Regions from separate parts of the Homo sapiens genome. Here region 1 is linked to region 2. Evidence: promoter capture Hi-C in 16 types of primary human blood cells and fetal thymus (Javierre and others, 2016). All regions are on one chromosome and are shown on one strand. The core of a region is centred on a gene start or on the middle of the fragment in contact, and the rest is flanking DNA. Distances in the headings are between cores, read along the strand shown. Region 1 holds the start of YPEL5 (yippee like 5). Region 2 holds the start of FAM98A (family with sequence similarity 98 member A).

Region 1 (5,357 bases), core at 1,784-4,283, 3.5 Mb before region 2:
TAAAGTTTCAATAAAGTATCAACTTATTCCAATTACCTTACTGGTATAACACAATTCTAACCAAAAGCCCAGCAAGATTTTCTTCAAACTTCTCACCCTTTCTTTTTCATTTCTCTTCCATATTTCTCATATCACCTTTAATTGTACACTTTATTTCTGAGTGTCCCACCATCAGCTCAGACTCAGCCTCTTTCACCCCAAATCAACCTTCTCAACCACACTATATCTGGCAATGGGAAACCATCACACTATCAGTCACCCAGGATAAAACCTCTGACTTTAAAAATTCTGTCCTTAACCCAGGTAGAAAGTCAGTCCTGTGTAGCCCTTCCTGTTAAAGTTAAAACTGCAAACCTTAGCTCCATTCCTGCCTGCCTTCCTTACTTCTGCACATCATCATCATCTAGATTAATCTTTCTAAAATATGATTTTTATTGTTATTTTTCAAGTTCACAAATACTGTAGTCGATAACTCTACTGGGTGACCTTGGACAAGTTAGTTAATCACTGTACCTCAGTTTTGTCATCTATTAAATGGGGATAACAGTACTTACCTCACAGAGTTGTTATGAAAATTAAAAGTTAATAATTTTAAGGCACTTACAACAGGAAGAATTTTATATATATTGTTATATAAATAAACATTGTCCCCACTGTTTTATCTGGTACTTAAAGTGTTCATTTCTGTGGGTTTAAGCATTGTACTCTCTTTTCAAATGATTATATTCAGAAATACTTGAATGTTTTATCCATGTACACAGGTGTCGATTACAGCATTATTTTTAATACAAAAGACTGAAGACAATCTGAATGTCTATCAGTAGAAAAATGTTTAGAAACATTTAGAAAAGATGGTGAAAGCTGGACACATTGGCTCACACCCGTAATCCCAGCACTTTGGGAGGCCAGGGTGGGCAGATCACCTGAGGTCAGGAGTTTGAGACCAGCCTGGCCAATATGGTGAAACCCTATCTCTACTAAAAATACAAAAATTAGCCGGGCGTGGTGGTGGGCACCTGTAGTCCCAGCTACTGGGGAGGCTGAGGCAGGAGAATTCCTTGAACCTGGGAGGTGGAGGTTGCAGTGAGCCAAGATCACAACACTGCACTCCAGCCTGGGGCACAGAGCAAGACTCCACCTCAAAAAAAAAAGATGGTGAAGTCATACTACGGAAAACTATGGAGACAAAGGTAAATTTGTAGATAAAAGACACATCTGACATGAAAGGATGGCTATAGCACATTGTTGAGTGAAAAAAAAAAGCAGGTTGAAAAACAGGAAGTACAATATGCTTCTATGTATAATACATTCAATTTGGGAAGAATAGGATACATATGAAGCTGTTAGAAGACAGAAGTCTCTTATCAAATGAGGCAGTATGATCTTCCTACAATAAACGTGTAACTTTTATATTAAATATTGTTAATTGAAAATAAAGAAATAGAAAGGAAAATAAACTAAAATACTGTATGTTTAAAACTTCTGGCCAGGCACAGTGGCTCATGCCTGTAATCCCAGCACTTCAGGAGGCCGAGGCGGGCGGATCACGAGGTCAGGAGTTCGAGACCAACCTGGCCAATATGGTGAAACCCCGTCTCTACTAAAAATACAAAAATTAGCCGGGCGTGGTGGTGTGCGCCTGTAATTCCAGCTACTCAGGAGGCAGAGGCAGGAGAATTGCTTGAACCCGGGAGGCGGAGGTTGCAGTGAGCCAAGATCATGCCACTGCACTCGAGCCTGGGCGACAGAGCAAGACTCCGTCTGAAACAAACAAACAAAAAAACTTATCTCCTGGAAAACTCACTTATTAAAAGATAACTAGTCCTTTTGCCTTTGATGCTCAGGTAAACTTCAGACGAACTAAATGAAAATACTTGTGGATTTGGGGATGAGCGGGAGTCAAGTGCTAGAATTTGCTTAGCAGCTTCTCTTCCACCAATAATGACTTTAAACATGTTGCAAACTAGCCCCAAATGCTAACCTACATTTTTAATCTGAGAGGTATGCGTCATCAAATATTTTGGTTTTATCCCGAAAGTCAGCTAACAGAGATGTAAGTACCTGGGCAACTCTAATGGAATGAGAAGCAACATCTTCCATCTTAAGCATTGATAAGGGTTAAGGGAACAGCTGCTCTTTGCAATGAACAAATCTCACTCTCTGAGGCAGAAATTCGCCATATAGAAGACTGAATTTCTTCATCTTTTTGAGAATCATTTCCACTACCCAGAAAAAACATTCAAATGAGTTGTAAATAAAGTCAAGCGCAGTTGAAAAATCCTGTATCCACAGATGTTTCTTAGGAGTGCCTATGCGCTTAGACTCGAGGGCTAGGGGTTTGAAAGCAAAAGGCAGCCCTCTACCAGGGGTGGTCGGGGAAACGGCCTCCAAGAAACGAATTACACGGTGCACTTTAGTTACCTAGGCAGCTGTTTGTCTAGGAAACAGCTTATTGTTTTCATTTGTCATCACCGCGGCTCACTAGGTATCAGGAAGCTCGGCTCCAGCCGCTACCTGGTGACGCTAATGACGTGCGATGTCTCGCAGCTGCCGCAATTAGACAGGCCAAGCCTTCGCCTTTAAGAAGCTGACTCACGTGGATGCTGTGTTGTGTGCGCTCAGCTGAAAGGGGGAGGTGGGTCCCCAGACTGACTACATTGGCCGCCTCGAGAGAAGGGGCAGAGTTAGCCTCTTTGATTGGCTGTACGAGTCCGAGGTGCTGGGTCAGGGGCGGGGCGAGCTGTCGCAAGCCTGCCCTGGGTCTGCGGCTTCTGAGAGGGGTGGGCCGCGAAGCGGAGGGGTGCGGGAGTGGGGGAGGGTGAGCCAGAGAAGGGGCGGGGCCCCGCGAAAAAGGCAGGAGGCCGAGGACAGGGGCGGGGCCTAGAAATAAAGGGCGTTCTGGGCCAACCGGGAGAGCTGACTGCGGGGGGGCGGAGCCACGCCGGGTGACTGACGTTGAGGCCCAACCAGGGAGAGGCGGGGCCAAGGCCAGGGCCTGACTAAACCTGGAGACTCGGGTGGCCGAGGGGCTTCATACCAGCTGAAGAGCGACAAGCCGCTGGCAGCCGCGGATCTCACCGCCGCTCAGGGTGAGTCCCGCGGGAGGGGCTGGACTCGGGGCCGGTGGGGACTGAGGCGCCCGTTCGGGTCGGGCGGCTTCGAGGCACTCGGGAATCGGCCCAGGGTGGGGGGCCCAGGCAGGAAGTGCCTCTTCCTCGCCGCGCTCTTCCCGGGGTCCCAGAGCGGCCGCCCCAGATCCTTCAGGGTGGGCCCCGGCGCTGGGACCGCGGGCGGACGCGCGGGGCTGTTTGCTCTTTGTGAGGCCTGGCGCGGCGGCCGCCGTCGGCCCGCCCCCGCCGCGCAGCCGGGCGACCGGTGCGACAACAGCCGCAACCCCTCCGCGCGGCGCCCGCGCCTCCGCCCCGTTTCCCCGTCGCGTCCTCCGAGGCCCGCCGCCGAGGCCCACGGCGCCCCCTGGGCGGACGGTCTGGCCGCGACCCCCAACCCGCCGCGCCGCGCCGCGGCTGCCCCGCCCCCACCCGTCGCATAGTCGGGGGCGCGCCCGGTCTCCGCCCCGAATCCAAGTCGGAACTTGACCGAGTTGTTTGGGCCGCGATGACCGCACGGCGTGAACCGTCCTGAGCAGGGCCCACGCCCGGCCCAAGCGGCCCAGCCACCGGGCTGGGGCGGTGTCTCCCTTTGCCCCCTCCCCCCCATGAACGTCCGCCTCCCCCGCCCTCCTGCCCAGAGGACCCGGGACTGACAGCGCAGGGTGACGGTTGGGCAGCCCGCCGGGTGTCGGGACCAAGAGAGCCCCCCGGCCACCCGCTCAGCTGTTTCCTGCTCGTGTTTGTTGTGCCGAGGGAGGCCCCGCCGCCACCGCCGCCGCCGCGCTCTGCCGCCCCGGTCCCTCCCGATTGGCCGGCTGGCGTCACGTGGCCTCCATCAGCTGGGCCGGCGGGGGCGCTCGCGGGCCCCACTGCGGCTGCCGGGTGAGCCCACCCGGGGGTCGCCCGGGCCGGCCCAGCTCCGCCAGCTTCGGGCTGCGGCCTTCCCTCCGCTTGCAGTCGGGAGGGTGGGCGTGCCCTTGCAACCCCTTTCCTGTACCTTCTCTGCAGGTAGATGGGACAAATGAGTGTCCGGATCAGCGGGAGTGGGAAATTGAAATACTACAAAGATCTGTTTAATCCTGATACCAACTAATCTCCCTTTCAAGGGAGAGTCTGGGAAGCTGTACAGCTCATTTATTTTTAAACTTTTTCTGTTTACAGAGATCTGTTGGTAATCTGAGGATTTTTATTCTACGTCGTCTTGACAGATGGAAAACCTGAAGTAACTTCGGGCTAACCTTGTGTTTTTGGAAAATTAGTAGACTTGGTGGTGAAGAAACTGGGAGGAGTAGGATATTAGCTAACTTTGCATAGCCACATATAGAGCGTCGCAGCTGCATTCCACCAAAGAGGAACCAAAAGGCCTGTGGTGTTCCCAGGGTACATATTCATGCCAGAAGTGAAGTGCTTTGGTGAATTCGTTTCCTGAAAGTTTATCGCATACTTGTACTGGGTTAGGTAAGAAGTAAAGTACAAAGAATTTAGAATAGTTTCTCTAGAAGCTTATAACTTAATCAAAAGTCGTGGACAAAGTCGAGCAATAATTTTAGCAAGTTATGAGACGTTAGTAAAATATATGTAGCTTGGAAAATAATGTTACCTGGTTGGATCATTGCGAACTTTTCTCTAGACTAATTTCCCTTTTCTGTTTTCTATTTAAGTAATGAGAAAAATAAACAGGTTTAGAAAAAAGTGAAAGGAAATAAGGCCAAAAATTATGAAAAGAAGTAATTAAAGCAGCTACTACCCTCTGAAAAACAGTCCACGAGACATGAAGGTAGTCCTAGGTATATGTGTGCCTAAAATATCATTCTAGGTTTAATGGTGAATAACTATAGAGATCAGTGTCAGTTTTAAGATAATCCTGTGTAGTAATGTCAGTGTAATGCAGGAACTGAACCTTAGCTAGACCTGAAGTTGCTACTTGACACTTGAGTCGGGAAGCCAGACAGGTAAATTACACGTCAATCCATCTAGTTAGAGGCTTTTGGTATTGCATCACAACAAACGAGACCATGAAATTGTCTTGCTAGGGTTTAGCGGGGGATGACCAACTCAGATTGTGCACTAACACACAAGGTTTCCTGAGTGAAATGACTAGTCTTATTTTCTAATATTTAAATATAAGTGTTATTGAAATATAGTGAACTTGAAAGTCATCTAACAAAACAGGAAAAAATAAGGCATTATTGAGGGGGGAGAACAAAAATATATCCTTAAAACGTACTGCAAATGAAGACCTGATTC
Region 2 (5,942 bases), core at 799-3,298:
CCGGAGCCTGAAGTGGGAGGATCGCTTGAGGCTAGGAGTTCGAGACCAGCCTGGTCACCAGAGCAAGACCTCATCTCTTAATAAATAAATAAATAGAAAAGGTAGTCATTTAATTCTAATATTTCTCAGTTAATCCTTTAAAAGTACATTTCAGTTAATTAAGGCTGACTTTTAATATTTGAATGCCACCAAACTAAGTAGTTAAGGTTAAAATTTATAACAGTTTTCAGAAAATCCATGGTTTACATTACACTCTATGTCAAGTAGTTATGTGATTACAATTACTACAGTAACAATTACTTGTACAGTACCCAAAAGAATAAAAAGTTAAAAAAAGGAGGGGGAAAAAAAAAGACAATAATGGGAAGAAACAGCATCCGTGGCCAATTCTTAAGTGACCACTATCCATGCAGAAAGACTACATTTAATAAGGTCTACCCCCTTCCTTTCATTCCACTCATTCCACTACAGTACTATAGTGTCATTTATTCCAGAAAGAAGCTTCTAGGATTTCATTTCCTTTCCCAGTAAAGGGACCCTCCTCAGGGCTCCTCACAGCATATTTTCCCAGTATCCTGTGAACCCCTCTTCCACCTCACCTTGTACTCTAAGGGCCTAACACTGCCACAAAGAAACTGTTCCTAAAAAAGTCCTAATGAATGAATGGTTTCATGTGTGAACAAGCGATTCAGTCTGAGATGTCAACTAAAGAGACTATTTTGCTGAATGACTTTAACATATGCCCTAATGAAAGAAAGAAGCCCCCTAAAGTCTGGAATATTTATAAAAATTCAGAGCAAGTTTCCAAGAAAAGAACAATAGTATTTCACTGTGACAAAGACAGATGATAAGCAAGACTACTTCGTTCCTAAAAATTTCTACTAGGGTAGTAAATTATTCAAATAGGCAGACTTTGGGAATCCTCAAGGTGTTTTTTCCTAAAGAAAGGTTTCTCTCAAAGGTTTCCTTGTCATGGAAAAACCTAAGAGAAAATTTTGATAAAGAACTTGTTACTTAGAAATACAGCTAGCTAAATCTGTACTTTGTTTTGATACCGTACCTGTAGGTAAGTATCTAACCATACAATTTGTTTCTGGAACCACATTTAGCCCAAGAGGGTCCACGTTCTCAAGTTTAATAGAGTACACTGATCTGGGTGACCCAGTGAGATAACAAACCCTATTTCCAGCTTCTAGATACTGATGAATTATGGTTGAATAAATATCAGGAGAAGGAGAGACACAATGCAAAACAAATACGCAGGTTCTTCGTGGGTGAAGACGACCCTGGTCTAATGGGGCTCAACGAGGCAGAGTATCACAGAGTCAAAGCAAACTGCTGGTGGTTCCCAGGGACGTGGTGATAGGTTAGATGCACAAGCGAGCTGGCCAGCGGAACAGATGCAGCGCCCATACAAGTGGCTTAGCGAAGCCTGGGTGCATGCAGAGATGACTGGGCAAAGGAGAAATTTTGAGAGAAGTGGGGTGGGGTAGGAGGAGGGGCTCAAGATGGGAGTAGGAAATTTGGAGAACAAGTAGGAAAGCAGAATCAACTTTGGCAACCTTTAGAGTTGAGGGGTTAAGGGGTAGGGCAGGAGGATGAAGCGAGGAGAGAAGCTCGGGGAGTGGGGGTGGCGAAAATCAGAGCCCAGACAATGACACGCATGACTGACAAACGCTGCGGGTAGCTCGCCTGCAGGGAGCACTGGGCAGGCCTAGGGGTGTTGGGATTGGAGGACCCCGAGCTAGCAGTGCAGACAGTGGACGTGGCATTGGGGGTGCCGGGGCCAAAGGGAAGCGACAGCCAGGAGCCACGGGGTGCGGCGTGGAGAGGCAGGTGTCTCAGACTGGGGCGCAGGAGGTGTTCCCAGGGGGCCGGCAGCGTGGGGCTTGGGAGACCCGTGCCCTGACAATCTTACCCTAGATCTTCCAACGACTCCAAGATGTCAGTCTCCATGAGGTCACACTCCATGCTACTGTGGTATTCAAATTTCCGAGTCGTCAGGCTCCCCTCTTCGCCGGCAACGCGTACACTCGCGCATGCGCGACTTCCCCGGAACTTCCAAATCCACAGCTGGCGCCTCAGCTCCCGCACTGCGCATGTCCGGAGCGTGCGCAAGAAACTTGGTCCCACTGACCGCCCCACCCCTGCCCACTAAAGAATTACAGGGCCCGCAGTTTTGCACATGCGCGTTACTGGATCGTGAAGCTAGCCGCCCAGAGAAGGGTAGGAGGACCGGCTGCGTGGCAGCTGGGCGTGGGGACCACGCGAAGGGGAGCGCTCTCGGCTCTCGTTATTGGGTGTACGCATGTGCGAATGTAGGGGGCGCGGCGGGCCGGGAAGGAGCTTGGAAGAGTCTCGGGACGCGGGTGGAGTCGGCTGTTAAACCGAGTCTCTGCATCCCAGACAGGAGATCGGGTGGCTCTTCGTAGGGTGCCGGCATGTGCTAGCCTTAGCTTGCAGGTCATGTAGAAAGGGAGAATTCTTGCGCTCCCGTCTTCAGGACGCGGGTGCGGGCCAAGTGCAGACGGCAGATAGCGTGCCATTTGATTTCCTCGTGGCTGCAGTAGCTTTATTTCAGGGTTAGGGATGAGCCAACTTTCCGCAGACTATGGATGTTCAGAAAGTTGGGTCGTTTTCCCTCATGCATTCTCTACCTGATGTCTAAAGCCCTTCCCAGACACTAAGCATGTTATTTTAAGGAGAAGGGGAGCTTCACTCCATAGCAAATAGAATAGAATATTTTTAAATCCACGTAGTTTAGACAGTGAATAAACTTTTTGGCTGTACTGTCATTACTTTTGACATTATTTGCCCGGGTGAAACATTGAGTTCACGATGTGGATGTGTTGTGATATCTTGGCAGTTACTGAGGGTGTGTTTAGAAATTACTGAAAAATCAGAAATGTTTTCAAAGTGATGGCATATTTAGAAAACTATATTTAACCATAAGTTGGCGTACTGTTAAATCGTGTAGGCATTTAATTAAAGAGTTTTCATATTGATACCTGTTGATTTTATTCTATAGTTCTCAAGCATTTTTGTGTCTGATGGATAGATGTTCCTATCCTTAGTAGTACCTTTTTCTTTTCTTTCTTTTTTTTTTTTTTTTTTTATGAGACGGAGTCTTGCTCTGTCGCTCAGGCTGGAGTGCAGTGGTGCGATCTCGGCTCACTGCAAGCTCCGCCTCCCGGGTTCACGCCATTATTCTGCCTCAGCCTCCCAAGTAGCTGGGACCACAGGCGTTCACCACCACACCCAGCTAATTTTTTGTATTTTTAGTAGAGACGGGGTTTCACCATGTTAGCCAGGATGGTCTCGATCTCCTGACCTTGTGGTCCGCCCACCTTGGCCTCCCAAAGTGCTGGGATTACAGGCGTGAGCCACCGCGCCCGGCCAGTAGTACCTTTTTCAGTTTCCTTATTTTGCATCATCTGAAGTGGGGGTAGGTTTTCTGCACTTACCATGGGCACTTGATATGGCCCATTATGATGCAGTCACCATAAGGCTGTGTGAATATTAGTCACATTCTACAGATGAGGACACTAAGGCTGAGTGGCTTAATAATCTTCAGCGATCTTAATGCCTGTAAGTATGAAACTAGATTTTGAGATTGAGGTATATCTAAATCCATATTCCTTCTTTTTTGACTAGTCAAATAAGGATTTATACGCAGGATGTGAAAAGAGGAAAATTTAGCTAGTTGAATTTGTTTAAACTTGTATATATTGTACATAATTACCTTATAATAATTGAATAATTATTTTCCTCATAGGGTTGTTGAAGGTGCTAAACAAAAAGTCATGCCTAATACAAAAATCAATTTTGAAAGAAAAAGGGTTTCATTCTTGACTCACTTTTGATGTAAGCTGTGTTCAATATTGAACTAATATTGAATATAATATTGTGTTCAATATTAGTGAATGAACGAGTGATGACTTCCCTAAAAGTATTAGTATTCCCTTTCTTTCTTTAAAAAAAATCCAGCTTTTGCAGGAATAGTATTCTCTTTCTAATTCACATCGTTAGCTTAAATGAAGGATTGCTGATATGAAATTTTTATATATTATGGTTTAAAGGAATTCTACAATGGCTTTCTCTGCAATTAAAAAAAGCTTTTAAATACTACTTAAACAAAATTGTGTTCCCTACCAGGCAGGCTCAGAAAGAAAGAAAAAAAATTGTCATCATTTTAATGGGATCTACGAGGAATCTTTTGCATTTTATTTAGAAATTATTTATGTTTATAATGGAACCTGATATCTGAAGACCTCTTTGAAACTGAGTTTACTAGAATGAAAGGAACAATGATTTGGAAGTGAGGAAGCTCTGGTTTTTGCATCAGATCAGTATAAGAAAGAATTTTTCTAACACTCTAAGAGTAGTCTTAAAGTGACTTAGGTATCGTTGAGAGATGATGAGCTTCCTGTCTAGAAGGTGTTCACCTAGAGGCTGAATAATTACTTAAGGGTACTCTTGTGAGAAGGCACACCCACAAGTGCCAGCACATGCCCTTTTACTGATGACTTTGATTCTAGATTCTTTCTCAAAAAAGAATATAAAATACCAACTTAAAACCCTTCTAGGGTCTGGCGCGGTAGTTCAGACCTGCAATCCCAGCACTTTGGGAGGCTGAGGCAGGACGATTACTTGAAGCCAGGGGTTCAAGGCCAGCTTGAGCAACATAGCAAGACTCTGTCTCTGTTAAAAAAAAAAAAATTAATTAAAAATGACTTCCAGGTGGGACCCAAGTGAGGCAGAGGGGCAGGGGCTGGCAGACCAGCGGTAAGCATGGCATATCAGGGCCTCACCATACGTCTCATTGCAATGAGCGTGTTTTAGGGCTTCACTGGTTTCTTCATGCCTTGGTTCATCCCTAAGGGTCCTAAGTAGGGAGTTATCATTACCATGTAGGTGACCTGTTCAGTTTGTTGCTGTCTCTTTTGGCTGATTGCAATCCTGGCCAACTCAACCCTCTCTTCAGACTGCAGTTGAAACATGAAATCATCTGGTATCCGAAGTGTCATTGGCCTTGAGGAAGACAGGCTTTACAGTGCTCAGTCTTAGCAGTCATGAGAAAAGAATTCCTTCTAGATGCAAAATCCAAACCACACCACTTTTCTTGACTTGCTTATTTTGGGCATCAGCTGCCTTAAACATTCACACCACATTTGAATGTCTAACACAATGCAGCATTTTTTTCTTCAACTTTTTTATGCTTTAATGAATTATGTGCCTACTTAACCTAAACTGTGCCAACTCCTCAAAATGATAATGCACTCTTTTGAGAGAGAAGATGCTTTTCTTCTGAGAAATGTGTTATTATGTCCTTGGAATTTGTGGATTTGTAGTGGCTCCTGCCTTCTCATAACATGGGAATCAGTGAACTATTTAGAACGTACTACTGCCTGACAAGACTCCAGTGGGGCAGTCAGTAGGAGAGGACGTTCAGAGGAAAGAGCTCTCCCAACAGAATTACACCAAATTATGTGTTCTTTTTTTTTTCTTTCTTCCTTTTTAAACAGAGTTTTGCTCTGTCGCTCCCGCTGAAGTGCAGTGGTGATCTCGTAGCCTCAACCTCCTGGGCTCAAGTGATCCTCCTGCCTCAGCCTCCCAAGTAGCTGGGACTGCAGCCGCTGGCCACCATGCCTGGCTAAGTTTTTTTATTTTTTGGTAGAGACGGTTTTGCCATGTTGCCCAGGCTGGTCTCAAAATCTTGGGCTCAAGCAATCCGCCCACCTTGGCCACTGCACCCCGTCATGAGCCACCACATCCGGCCCAAGGTATATTTTCAGCATGAATTTCTCATTTCTGCCATCTTTTGGAATAAATCATTTTTCTGTTTTCTATAGATAAAATAAAATATAAAATAAAGCTATTCTAGTGTCCCATCTTTGAGGGAGTCTGGTTACTGTCCATATTCTTAACTGCTGCTGCTACAG

Evidence for each region. The method cuts DNA at HindIII sites, captures the fragments that hold promoters and counts their contacts. A CHiCAGO score of 5 or more calls a contact.
Region 1: the fragment with the promoter of YPEL5 here is called in contact with the fragment with the promoter of FAM98A in region 2 in 1 of 17 cell types (naive CD4 T cells); the score reaches 5.2 in naive CD4 T cells.

What each region holds. Positions count from the first base shown.
Region 1 is chr2:30,143,974-30,149,330 of GRCh38, forward strand. YPEL5 (yippee like 5) reads left to right here and starts at 3,034. Exons shown (of 3, transcript NM_016061.3): 1 at 3,034-3,089. RefSeq lists silencers at 2,638-3,217, 3,248-3,417, 3,708-4,147. The HindIII fragment of the contact is 10,963 bases long and covers 1-4,610 here.
Region 2 is chr2:33,597,251-33,603,192 of GRCh38, forward strand. FAM98A (family with sequence similarity 98 member A) reads right to left here and starts at 2,049. Exons shown (of 8, transcript NM_015475.5): 1 at 1,919-2,049. The coding sequence starts at 1,971. LOC105374455 (a long non-coding RNA gene) reads left to right here and starts at 2,095. Exons shown (of 3, transcript XR_939942.3): 1 at 2,095-3,588. It also overlaps the pseudogene ATP6V0E1P3. RefSeq lists enhancers at 1,303-1,492, 2,043-2,112, 2,143-2,192, 2,333-2,562. The HindIII fragment of the contact is 3,614 bases long and covers 500-4,113 here.